2 separate regions of the Homo sapiens genome follow, and region 2 is linked to region 1. The links are contacts of gene promoters, found by promoter capture Hi-C in blood cells and fetal thymus (Javierre and others, 2016). All regions are on one chromosome and are shown on one strand. Each heading gives the region's core, a stretch centred on a gene start or on the middle of the fragment in contact. The rest is flanking DNA. Distances are from core to core; before and after follow the strand shown.

Evidence for each region. The method cuts DNA at HindIII sites, captures the fragments that hold promoters and counts their contacts. A CHiCAGO score of 5 or more calls a contact.
Region 2: a fragment that was not itself captured here is called in contact with the fragment with the promoter of ACSL6-AS1 in region 1 in 7 of 17 cell types (M1 macrophages, total CD4 T cells, total CD8 T cells and 4 more); the score reaches 9.6 in M1 macrophages.

Annotation. Positions count from the first base shown.
Region 1 is chr5:131,998,610-132,005,342 of GRCh38, reverse strand. It overlaps ACSL6-AS1 (ACSL6 antisense RNA 1), which reads right to left and starts at 1,770. Exons shown (of 2, transcript NR_183256.1): 1 at 1,532-1,770. The region is part of intron 1 of ACSL6 (acyl-CoA synthetase long chain family member 6); the gene reads left to right. RefSeq lists an enhancer at 2,994-3,589. The HindIII fragment of the contact is 3,713 bases long and covers 1-2,992 here.
Region 2 is chr5:131,767,037-131,773,662 of GRCh38, reverse strand. All of the region lies in intron 1 of FNIP1 (folliculin interacting protein 1), which reads left to right. Among named protein-coding and RNA genes, the nearest start is that of FNIP1, 27 kb to the left of the region's middle. The HindIII fragment of the contact is 1,276 bases long and covers 2,233-3,508 here.

The DNA of each region.
Region 1 (6,733 bases), core at 521-3,020:
GGGAAGCTCTGGCCACTCTGCCCTGCCACTAGAGCTGATGCTGCATGAAGCCACATAGACCCCAGGACCCTGCTTAGTGGCTGGAGAACTTCAGTGTTCATCGTGACTGTGCTTTCCAGCAGATGGGCTGGATGTGATTCTCTGAGGACACCTTCAACTCACGCATTTTTTTTTCTTTTTTCTTTTTTTTGAGACAGAGCTTTGTTGTTGTTGCCCAGGCTGGAGTGCAATGGCGTGATCTTGGCTCACTGCAACCTCTGCCTCCTGGGTTCAAGTGATTCTCCTGCCTCAGCCTCCCATGTAGCTGGGATTACAGGTGCCTGCCACCACACCCGGCTAATTTTTTTGTATTTTTGGTAGAGACGGGGTTTCACCACATTGGCCAGGCTGTTCTCAAACTCCTGACCTCAGGTGATCTAGGTGATCCACCCATCTCAGCCTCCCAAAGTGCTGGGATTACAGGTGTGAGCCACCATGCCCAGCCAACTCATGCATATTCTGTAGGCCAACTCCCCTAAGCCTAGGTCTGTCTGTGGTGGCAGGGAGGGTTTAGAGAGAAATGGAGGTTGGGCCTTCCCCCATCCAGTAGGCTGGTAGGGGATTTGGGTGCATGTGTCCCCGATCTCCTTGCCACAGACCAGATATGGAAGGCTATGACCTGTGGAACCAACTTTTCTAGGTCATTCTGAAGTGTCCTGTCTCCTCTGTCTCCTGCTTCTGCTCCCTGGACAGTTCCATGACCTCTCACAGAGACATGCCTGGCACCTTGGCTTCATGAAGATACTGTGTGGCCCAAACGAATACCAGTTTCCTTTAGCCCCAGAGGCTGACAAGACATATCTCCCTTGGATTTCAGGAGATCTGTGGAGCATCCACCAACCCACCTGTTGGTTCAAAATCAACTCCAAAGTGGTTTTGTCCTAGATGTCCTCTCAGGCTCAACGGCCACATGTGTGCTTGAGATCTTGCTGTGCTATTTCTCCTGGTAGTGGGAGTCTGAGTGGCATCCATGCTCCACAGGGCACAAGGTCTGTGCTGTGGTTAATAGGCAGCTCCTGGTGACCATGGGGTGTCAGAGAAGCAGTGTTCTGGCTGCTGAAAGTCAGCCAAAAAAAAAAAAAAAGGATAGAAGCCTGACCTTGGCATGGAGCCTTGGTTGAAGAAGGAGCCCCAGCCCTGGAAGCTAGTGATCCCGCACATGGGGCTCTGGGCTGCCCTTATCCCCACCTCCCACTCGAGGGCACTTGTGGCAGCAGGAGTGTGGGCACCAGGCAGAGGACACACGTGCCCTCCATTATTGAAAGTCCTCTCTGTGCACTGCAGGGTCTTCTTGTGTACCAGCACTTTTTTCTTCCCATTTCTTTCTCCATGTTTACCATCAACACTGTGAGAATAACTGAAGTTTCCTTATCCAAAAAAAGGGTGCTACTCCAGATTCCGCCACTACTGTTTTCGAAAAGCACAAAACCAACAGAGCCTCAGAGGGGGCTGACCCTCTTTCTGGATCCCACCTCCATCCCCCCGAACTTACGTAGTGCTTTCCTCAGCAGCCACCGAGGCCTCCAGTTCCGTCTCCAAAGATGATGGGTTCCTTCCAGTGGGTGCAAAGTGAGAGCCCCAGTGATTGGTGTTCATAGTGGGTCAGTGTGAACAACGCCCAATGGCCTGCCTGGGCCAGCTGGGGCCTCGTTTTGCTTTGGTCTGAAAGACATTTTTGTTTTCTGGTGAGAACAGCCCCAGCCTGGCCAGGAGCCGGCCAGCGGCAGGAATACAAACCCTTTCATGTGACAGACCCAAGTGGAGTGATGCCCTCCTGCCAGCAGCAGGCCCTCCCCTGCCGCTCCTGGGAGGCGGCCATTTGCATATTTCCCATTCATCCTGGCCTTGAAAAGGAGGCCTGAGTTCCCAGTGCTCCTGCCCGCTGAGGGCTGGGCCGCTCCAGTCTAATGTTAACTCTGTGGACACTGTAGGCTCTCACAGGCCAACAGCAGAACTTGACCGCTTGCTGCCGGAGGGAGAGCAGCTTAAGGCTGCAGCTGCTGTGCCGCCTGACCTCCAGAGGGGGGATTCAGGAGGTGGCAGATTCCCGTTGACCAGCACAGCCTTTTGCTAAACTGGAGGAAATTCAGATTTGTTTCTTCTTGAGGCATTCAGAAGAGGAATTTTGTCAGACTATGGGGATGCCAGAATATTCAGCTATTTACCAAATTTGCCAGAAAATGTGCCCTTAACCAAGGGCAAAACTCTTTTTGTCTTGCTCACTTTCTAGTCTACAAAAAAATTCAGTGACTCTGGAATGGTAGGTGAAGGAGCCATGCCGGATCCTGGCTGCAGCAGCAATCCCTTTGCCAAGGATGTAGGAGCACAGCTTGCCTGGGGCACTTTTGCATCCCCAGGGCTGAGTGCCATTAGCTTGTGGGCTGTGACTCTGAAGGCATGAGGCAGATATACAGTACCCATCACCATCTTTTTCCTTTCTCCCATAGCTAAGTGCCATCCTGCCAGCCTCAGCTTCCTGCCCCAGTCCTCAGTGCAGACAGGCCTCTGCCTCCTTCCCGCCACTGTGTGAGGGCTCCTGCCAGGGGCCCCAACATCTTACAGGCTCTTCCTGTGACTTACCAACCCACTTCTGTCCCTCTTCGATAGCCCTGTTCTCTACCCTTTCCCACCCAGCTCGGATCCTCTCCTTGTTCTCCCTCCCTGGCTAAGGATGTCTCAGGTTCTGTCTTTTGTGCATTTCTCCCCTAGCACGTGTCCCCAGGAGACCAGCAGGGCTCCTAAGTGAACAAGCAGGCAAGCAAATCCCTCTGTTGCTCCCCCCACCTCAGTGACCCCCAACCATATATTGGCAGGACCCTCCCTACTTCAAGGAGCTTCCCTCTAGCTGGAGGAGGTCGCATCCCATCCTGCTTGTACCCCAGCCACCTGCAGTTGAGCTCTGAGTGCATGGCCTCGCCATGAGCAGCCCATATGCCCTTTACTGGTTCAAGCTTAGTTTGCAGTGTGTCCTAAGTTTGAGCCAGTGGCAGAAATGAATCATTGCTCCTGAGGCCGGGACACCAGCAGTCCTAACGTGGACATGGCCGGAAAGGCAAAGGATCGTGTTACAGCCACAGGATTTGGCTTCCTGCACAGGAGGGCCTGGCCAGGGAGTGTCCCTGTGCCTGTGAGGTGATGGTGACCCTGGTCAGTATTCCTAGGGTCCTGCCTGCTGTCCCAGGGCTTGGCGTGGAAGGATCTGAACTCGTCCACACCATCAGTCCTGGTTATCATACCCTGTAAATATTTCCAAAGGGACTACTGCTGTTTTTTTAGCCCCTGCTGTCCCTCTTTGCTCTGAGAACTTTGTCCTGCCTAATTCATGGTGAGGGCAACGTTTATCTCAGAGCGTGTGAAAGACACTGTGTATCTGTTTGCTCCTCTGTTCTCAAGGCTATTCATATTTTAAAGTTCCTGAAAGCATTGTTTGTGCCTGGCTTCCTGGTGCTAGCATCAGGAATGTGGACCCACATTCCCTGAGCAGGGCTTAGGGTGAGTGAGATTTTTGAGAGGTACTGTCATGAGGATGGGGAGGCCAGCGGGCAGTGGAGGCTGCTAAAGGGAGGCATGCTCACAGTGAGCTTGGGCTAGTTGCAACAGGTGGCTCTGTAAAGTACTCAGTCACAGCCAGCCTTAGCTGGGCCTTTCTACATTCAAGGGGCTTAATTGAACCATCAGAGCTATGATCAGGCTCCTTGGGGAAGCTTGGCAGGTGAGCCACCATGTAACCTGGCAACCCCGTATCGTATCCTGGGCCTCTATCTCATGGGGGATGTACAGTGGGTCCCACCTGGCAATTCCCAAGTCAGGGAGGCTCTTTGCTCCATTTCTGCCCTGGTCTTATGTGGTTCTGTGAATCTAATTAAAACCCAAGAGGAAAATGGAGAGCAAACCCTTCTCTCACAGCAGAGAGAAGCTTGAATCCCTGTGTGGAGAGGGCAGGTGTTGGGCAAGTGTGCGCTGCTGTGTTTGCACCTCTGCAGGTCAGGGTTGTACATGTGTGATGGTGAAGGCTGTGCATTTCTCAACCTGGCAACTGGGCTGCACACTGCTTGGGGTGAAACTACTCCCTCAGCTCTATGCCTCTGGCACTCTGTGGGATTTCCCACAGACCACTGGATTTCCTGCCCCAGAGGCTGCCTTGAGAAGCATTAAAGGAAGCTTTCATATTAAAAGCATCTCTGAAGATATTTGGAGAAAAGTAAGGGTCCTGCCTAGAAGAAAGGTGAAGTGACTTTGTGGGCTGATCGGGGGTGCTCAGATATTCGTTCATTTTAATCGGGGTGGGTTGGGGGAAGCTAGGGCCAAGTTCCAGATGAGGGTCGCTGAGGCAGGACGCTCTTCTCATGGCTCACCCAGATGGTAGGGTGAGTAGTGGAAGCTGTTATCTGCTCCAGGGAAGGTGTTGCAAGCCTGTGGGCTCTAGACTTGCCAGGCAATTGGGCAAACAGCTTTCAAGAGGGAGCTCAGAGCACTGGGTCCTGTCCTGGGACATTCTTGCAGCAAGGGAGCAGGGTTAAATTTGGGTGGACAGTGGCCCAGTGCAGGCAGACTCGTAATTGCCCAGAAGCACCTGATGTGGGTAGGGCCTGGGGGTGGTAGTAAGCTGGCTCCTGTGGCCTAGACTTGTCTTTTACTTATTAGCAGGTGCCACCATGAGTCTAGCTGTCTACCTTATGATCAGAATGAGTGTCCAATTCAAAATACGCAGTGATCATACTTGTGTGCTCAGCCACATGTTAGCCATGGAAATAGTAGTGAAAATGCTATGGAAGTAGCCACCCACACCCCTAAGCCTCACAGATCTTGCAGTAGTGAGACCCCCGAGAGCCCCTGGGACCTCAGTCTCTCAGTCTGGCAGAGGTGCTGCAGGACTTCAGAGCTCAGCTTCGGTCCTAATAGGCAAGGGTGTGGGTTCTGGCTCCAGGGTGACCATTCCCATGCAAACTAGGCAACAGTATCTCTTAGTGCAGGCATGAGAGCAGGGCTGGTGTGCTGCCCTGGGGTCTTGTGGTGGAGATCAGCCACTATCTTCCACCTGCTGGCTCTGATCCTTGGTCCAGAGTGTCCTCACTCCCCAGAGCATCCCTAAGCAGATGTTTTATCTGGAACTGTGCCATTTCTTTCCTCTTCCCAAGTAGATTGGCTGTGACCTTGTGGGGGTGGGGAGCAGAGGCAGCCCCTGGGAGAGGCTGGAGGCAGAATCTCCCGGGTAGATGGTACAGTCGCCCTCAGTGCCAGAGAGCTAGCATCCCCATCCCCTACTCCCCACTACTTCCTGTCACCCCCCACCCCCTACACACATAAACTCATGCTCACTGCAGTCCCAAGCCCACAGCAAAGGCCTGGCCCTAATCATTGTCTCAAATGGATGTGTAAGGAGACTTTGTTCTTAAGAAACCCACTTGGCAAACTCCCTTTCAGAACTGCAAACAGGGTGGGGTGAGGGGAAAAGCAGGGGGGTGTAAGCTGAGGCTCTGGCACGCTGGCAGGGTGAGGGTTAAGGCTGGGTTGCTTGGCTCTGAGCTGATCTGAGCCAGCACCGCCCTGCATGCAGATGGAGGTGGGGCTGGCGGGGGCCTTGAGGGGCCAGCAACTCCTTACAGAACTGCTGTGTGCCCTGTTCCCTGCCAGACCTGCTCCCACAGCCACCAGGGAGCCTGTGCTACCACTGCTAACGGCTCTACCACCACCCGGCTTCTCAGAGCAGGCGGCTGTTGCCATCGACTGTCCCCAGGAGGGCAGACTCGGGGCAGGGCCTTCGCCACTTTTGTGCTTTGATCAAGATGTGGTAACTTCTTTCCCTGGGCCCCACAGGCCCTATAAAGGGAGGCTGGTTCTAGTGGGACGAGCTCAGCCGCCTCCTCAGTGCCAGGAGCCTGCTGGAAAGGTAGGGTGTGAATGCATCTACTTGTGCAAGTTGTCTTTGAGCCCCTTTGGCTTGCAAAGAGATGGAGTAACTGCTTCAGCTACTTGCTATCTACTAAGTGTTTCCCTTACTACATGCCTGGCACTGCACTCTCTGTCCATGAGCTTGTTTGAGATGAGGCCCAGAGGGGCAAAGTGACCTGCCCAAGGCCACACAGCTATCAAGAGACTGAGTCATGATTTGGACCCAGGTCAGTTCAGCACCGGAATACCCAGAATACCCACTTTGGGTCCTCTCCCAAGCTCGTTTGCTAGGGTCCCTGGGCCCTGGGAGAGGTTGTAGTTTTCTTTTCAGAGCTCTTCACTTGGAGTTGAGGAGATTCTTTGATGATTTGGTGGCTGGGCTTGAGCTTCCCCACCCGTTTTGAAGACCTCAGAAGTTTGCAGAGGCCCAGAACTCCATCATATGAACCCCTATTAGAGAGGCTGATACAGAGGAAGCTGGAGTGATTCAAAGGGGAGGGAAGAATCCGAGGATCATGGAGAGCCTCAGTGTGAGCATTAGTTTGGACTCTGGTCCTAAGGCAATAGGAAGCCAGATAAGGTTTCTGAGCAGTGGCATGACATGATCCTATCTACATATCAGGAAATAACTTTGGTAACAGGGCAAGCACCTGTTAGAGCAAGGAGACCTATGGAGAGGGTGGTATGGGAGTCTGGGCTGTGGTTGGTGGTGGCTGTCAGGCCTGGGGCCGTTGGGGTAGAGAGGAGTGGTCGGGTATCCAGCTAGACAATGAAGCCTAGAGTATTGAGGTTAGGAGGCTGG
Region 2 (6,626 bases), core at 1,621-4,120, 230 kb after region 1:
TGGATCTAATAAGTATTGTAATTTTGAATAATGATGTGCATAAACACATTTTTCTAGGTATCTACATCAGCTGTACAATGATGAAACTATCTATGATTCCTATTGGTGATCAAAGTTATAGGAACCTTATACCTCTGAAGTTTGTTGCCTGCATTTTAATAGAAGGAAACGCTAAATGGTAGTTAGAGATTGGTGGAAATCTCTAACTACAATTCATTCCCCATCCAAGTTGACAGGCACACCAAACCACAGATCTGTGTGGGTCAGCAGATTGCATGTTAAGAATCCCTGATCTAGGAGCTTTAGTTTAGGCTGTGAGACTGACACTTCAGTGGGTAGTTATATAATAATTGAAACCTGAGCAGGGGTTTTGTCTCATTTATCTTTACATTTTTATAATCTCACAGTGTCCAGTAAACATTAAACAGTTAGTTATTAATAGAGCTAGATAAATAATTTGGGGGTATATATGGGAGATTACTTCTGTTAGAAGAGGTAGCATTGAGCTGTATTCTAAATTTAGTATACATTGGAATTTTCAGGTTGGATGAAGTAAGGAAGAGGTACTCAGAATTGAGGCATGCTCATAGGAATAGCATCAGGAAGGGTATGACAGGTTTGATGATTATTGAGAGTCAAGATACACATTTAAGGGAATGGCAAGAGATGAGAGGTTGAGATAATGCTGGGGCTCAGATTATAAGGAGAGTTTTGTGTATACTAGGCAACTGGTAACTTACAATGATATGGTACAATCAGCTTTGTGTTTTAGGAAGTTATCTCAGTTGATGTCATGACAGAAAAATGGGACAGAGTGGGAAGAAATTAGAAGCAGAGGCCAGTGAAGCACTGTTGCAGTTATTACAGGTTAGAGAGGGCAGGGTCATGATGGTAGCAGAGAGATGGGAAACAGCGATCCATATCTGGGAGAAGAGGATTCTATGCTTGACTGAATATGGGATGTGAAGGAGAAGAAGTTGTGGCCTCAATCTACCCAATTGGGAGACTGGTGCATGGGCCATGGTAGTGCCAAAACATAGAGCTATTAAGGTAAGGAATGCAGGAGGGAAGAGTAGGCATGGTGGAGAAGATAGAGAAATTTAGTTGTACTTAGTAAGTTTGAGGTAGGCTGAGATTCAGGTAACAGTTTTCTTAGTAGGCAATTGGGGTGAGAGATTTTGAAATTTTACCCTTTAGATCAATCACTTTTAGATCATTACAGTAATTTTTTTTTTTTTTTTTGGTTTGAATTTGTTTTATTCAGATACAGTTTACATGCAGTAAAATTTATTCTTTTTTAGGTTTGCAGTTTGATGAGTCTGACAATGTATAGTCATATAACCAACACTACAGTTGAGATATAGAATATTACCCCAGAAAGTTCCCTGTACCTTTTAGTGATTCTCTTCTCCCCCACATCGAGCCCCTGGCAAGAACTGATGTGATTTTTATCCCTACAGTTTGGCCTTTTCCAGAATGTCTTATAAATGATATCATACATTGTGTAGCCTTTTGTATCAGGTTCTTTCACTTAGTATAAATGCCTTTGACATTCCTCTATGCATGTTATTCCTCCATGTATCAGTAGTGTATTTTTGTTGCAAAGTAGTATTCCTTTGTATGTGTGAAGGTTTTAAGAAACACACCTACCTGGGCTACAAACCCTAATATATCTGAATTCAGAAGGATAGCCAGGAAATGGTAATTTCTTGGACTCCCGTCTCATGGTATGAGATAATGGTACTAGGGAGTAGAGTGCAAGGAGGTCATAGTGTCAAATGTGCGTAGGTGGAATGGAACATAAGAGGCTGTGCTTAGGACTGTTTTTCATGTTTGGTTTAGAAGGGAAGGTAAATGTGACAGTAACGTAAAACTTTTTAAAGATAAATAGGTGAAAGAAACAAATCAGAGGTATAAGGAATAGGGAAGATTTAACAGGAGACTAGAAGGGATGGATCAACTCTGTAGACGTGGAGAGGGAGAGGAACGCTTTTTTCTTTAAGGTAAAAGGAGAACTAGTATGATTGGGTGCTGTTATAAGTGAATTGAGAGGACTTACAGATTTTTGATCTGAGTGTCTGGATGAGTAGACTTAGTAGGTTGACTTTAGAGAAGTAAACTTCTAATTAATTCAAATACTGGTTTTCCTGTTTTGGAACATGTTCCTTTTTCATCCATTGTTTCTTAGTTTTGTGGCACTTTGCTGGTTTTCAAGCTAGTGGGCATCAAGCTTTTCTCTGGCCAGTTCTTTCCTATCCTGAAACCCTTCAGTGGAAAAACAAATCATGTTCTGCCTTAAGAGTATGATGGTTATTAAGCTATTTTGTATTCCTTGGAGGAAAGGATATACAATCCTGGGGATTCAAAGAAGTGCTTCTTGAAATGAATGTGAAGTTTTAGTATCAGACTAGAGGTACAGACAATCATAATGTAGAAAGCATAGATGTTTCCCTTTCTCCAATTTTCTTTTCCTTGGGGTTACATCTTTTAATAGTTAATTCTGAGTTTACTAGTTAGAATTTATGTCTTTGTCACAGGAAGGGGAACATCACACTCTGGGGACTGTTGTGGGGAGTGGGGAGGGATAGCGTTGGGAGATATACCTAATGCTAGATGACGAGTTAGTGGGTGCAGCGCACTAGCATGGCACATGTATACGTATGTAACTAACCTGCACAATGTGCACATGTACCCTAAAACTTAAAGTATAATAATAAAAAAAAGAATTTATATCTTTGTATTGTTTCTAATTCATCTTTCCTGAAAATGTTTGGTGCACATACAAACAAACTGATATGTTTGTTTGCCTCTACACTGATGGTATACATACAGTTTTGAATTTTGCTTTTCTTCACGTGATAATCACTTTGGAGATCTTGATGTGTGTGATGCACATTCTAAGGGTTGAAGAGAGAAACATTATCCCTATACCAATCTTAGAGGTAGTCTTACTTTATAGACAAGTAATTGAGGACTAGAGAAGTTAAGGCACTTCTCTACAATCACAGAGAATCAGTATGTGGCACAGTTGGAATTTAAATCTAAGTTTGGCTGATTCAGAGCCCATTCTTCTGTTTTTGGCATGTTGGGTGTGAGGAATGATTCTTGGTTTCAGCATATTGTCTGTTACCTTATAGATTAATAGCCCATTGTATTAACGCATTTCTGTTAGTGAATTAGTCCTATCGGGATACATACACAGATGCACCCCTTGGTTTTTCTAAAAGAACATGCTGATACATATTAAAATACAAACCCACTGAAAGACAGTGCTTGTAAAGCATTCTAAAATGTCTCTATTTCATGAACCAGCTACTTAATGTATTACAATATGGTAGTCTTATTGAGGTTTATAAATTAAAAGGCAGTATTTTCTGCTAGACTTGTCTACTTGAACTCAACACAAGAGTTCAGATTAGTGAGCCAGTTTACATACTGACCAGTCTGGGCCCTGTGATCATTAGGGCCTGCTTTTCAACTTGCTTGTCAGCTGGGTAGAATACAAGCTTGCTATGGCTTCCAGGAATGTGTATGTGGACTTGTCTGAAATAGCAGAGTTGGGACATACAGAAGTTGAGAAAGGAACTATTGTGTTTTCTTGTTTACTGCATGAACCTCAATTTGTTATAGATACGGATTGTTGAAGACCTGGGTTCTAAGCCATTGGTTGCCTGAGCACTCTTACTCTGGACCAGACCTTGTTTAGTTAAAGCATCCTTAAAAAATACATACATTGGCATTTCTGGTCTGCACTAGCTGCCAGGACAGCACTTAGTTGAACAGAATACTTAGATTGATTTTCTCGTAGTCATGTACTTATAGTAGAAGAGATAAAGGAATTGAAAAGCAGTCGTAATTGCTTCTGTAAAAATCCCAGACTCTTCAGTGAAACAAAAAAGCAGGATGTTACTTGTGAAATGGTAGGACTGGATAGATGGAGCCTTTTGCAAAAACAGATTTTGTCATGGGCAACAGATTTCTTAAAGGCTCCCGGTCCCTCATGGTTCCATTGCTGGGATTAAGCCTTTTTGCATTGCAGCATGGAGAGCCTTTTATTTGAGTTAAATTCAGACTTCTTGGTATGTCATCTGACAGTCTTGTGGTTTCAGATAAATATGGTTCATTGCTGTTATTAACCTGGGTTGACAGTTGTGCATGACTGGAGTTTTTAGGGATTTTGAAAAGTGGAACTGCTTAAGAGAAATAGGATGCCACTAATGTAGAGCTTAACTTAATGTGATATTCAAGTGTGTTAACATCAAAATAATCCAAATCTAGTTATTAATTTGGTGATATATTTGCTTTAAAATATCTGAAAATTTTAAATGCCAAGATTTTAGATACTTATTTTATTGAAAGTTAAATTATGATAATAACCTTAATTATTAGAATGACTTCTTGAAAATGTTTTAAGCAAGTATTAATTATTGTTTTAAAATATGTAATTCATAAATACTGTACAGTATGTTAGTCCTTGGTTTATGTTTATTTTATGATTCTCTTTCTGCCATTTGTTGCTCTTCTTTCTTGGTATGTTTACATGGGAACCTTCACTGCAGATTTTTGGAAAGCAGTGTGCTTTTCTGTTTGTATCCCATATATATATTTATAAGTAAAATGTAAATTAAAAGCTTGACATTGTATTAGTGTATTGATCATAATCCAGTTATTTTTATAGTTAACGGTATTCTCTAATTTTACTGACATGGACCTGAATTTATTTAGAATTATTTTTGATGCTTTGTGAACACCTTAAATGTGTGTCCCCACTTAGTCATTTGAGTTAAATAATTTGAATTAGTAATGGCCTTATACTAATTTAGGTACATTGTTTTTATTTTATTTTATTTTATTATTAGTTTTTGAGACGAAGTCTTGCTCTCTCGCCCACGCTGGAGTGCAGTGGCACAATTTTGGCTCACTGCAACCTCAGCCTCCCGGGTTCAAGCAATTCTCCTGCCTCAGGCTCCCGAGTAGCTGGGATTACATTACCCCTGGCTAATTTTTGTATCTGTAGTAGAGATGGGGCTTCACCATGGTGGCCAGGCTGGTCTTGAACTCCTGACCTCAGGTGGTCCAACCGCATCAGCCTCCCAAAGTGCTGGGATTACAGGCATGAGCCACCATGCTGGCCTGTTTTTTTATTTTAAATAAGTCACATTATACAAGTTCCCCCCTTTTTAAAAAAAAAAAAAAACTGTGTATGACCCAGTTAAACAACTTGGATACTGGGTCTCTATTGTTTTAGCTCATTTAACATTCTTCCAGTGTTTTGCTGTAGTTTTTAAGTTCACAGGTATATAGAGTTAATGTCAGAAAGTTAAACCACATAGGCCAGGTACATTTCAATTAGGTATACGTATTGCTGAAAAATACTAAGTAAATATGATAGCATATTATGATACATGATAGCTCTTATGGTGTAGAAATCTACTATTTGCCAATGTGCCATTTTTACCAAGAATTCATGTTAATGAATTTTTTGTGCATATAATTTTATGCATGTTAAATTGTACAATAAATATAAATGAATTTTGGAACTTTAATGCTGGTAATAGTTTATATTTTTGTTATGGTATTTTTTTCACATCTAATTTGATTAAATGATGATAGTAATACTATGGCCAAGCAGCTGACTATCCCTGTCATTGAAATGTAAATTACAGTCACTAGAATTACATTAATACCCTGAGTATAGTTGAATTTATTGTGACAAAATAAGTCTAAAGATTAGTGTTCTTACAACATTTAGTATATTAAGATGTAGTTAGAGAAAAATAATTGGATATAAACAGCCTATATAAATATTAATCAAGATTTTGTGATACAAATAAGTCCTAAATTGATAACTAAAGTCTTTGGAACTGAGATTAGCAAATCAGTCATGGAATTATTTTCCTGTCAGATTAGAGAATTATAATTCCTTAGATAGAAAAATGATTACTATATATACAGGCTTCCAGCATTAAAATGGTACTCCTTGAAATAGGCATTTACTCACTTGTTTAGCAAAGTGGTTGAAGTTTTATTACATTCATTATCTCTTACAGCTTCTTCCTATGGTATTTAGGTTAATTTGTGATTAACCAGTTGTCAATCTGGAAGGAATTTCCACAGCTTACAAGATCAAATTGAATTATATAGAAACTGGTACAAAATGATGTCTTGTCACTGATGGTCCTACCTGCTTAAGAACATTTCTTTTCTTTTTTTTTTTTTTTTTTTTTTTTTTTTTGAGACAGAATCTCACTCTGTCACCAGGCTAGAGTGCAGTGGTGCAATCTTGGCTTACTGCAGCCTCCGCCTCCCAGGTTCAAGCGATTCTCCCGCCTCAGCCTCCCGAGTAGCTGGGACTACAGGTGCACACCATGCCCAGCTAATTTTTGTATTTTTAGTAGAGACAGGGTTTCACCATGTTGGCCAGGATGGTCTTGATCTCTTGACCTCGTGATCTGCCCACCTCGGCCTCCCAAAGTGCTGGGATTACAGGCGTGAGCCACCACGCCTGGCCAAGAAAATTTCTTTTAAGCCTGATAGTAGGAGATACTTTCAAGTGGAGTGCAGTAGAGTTGCAGTGATATAAGCCGTAGTGGTTAATGTTAGGTCTCAGCCTGACTGGATTATGG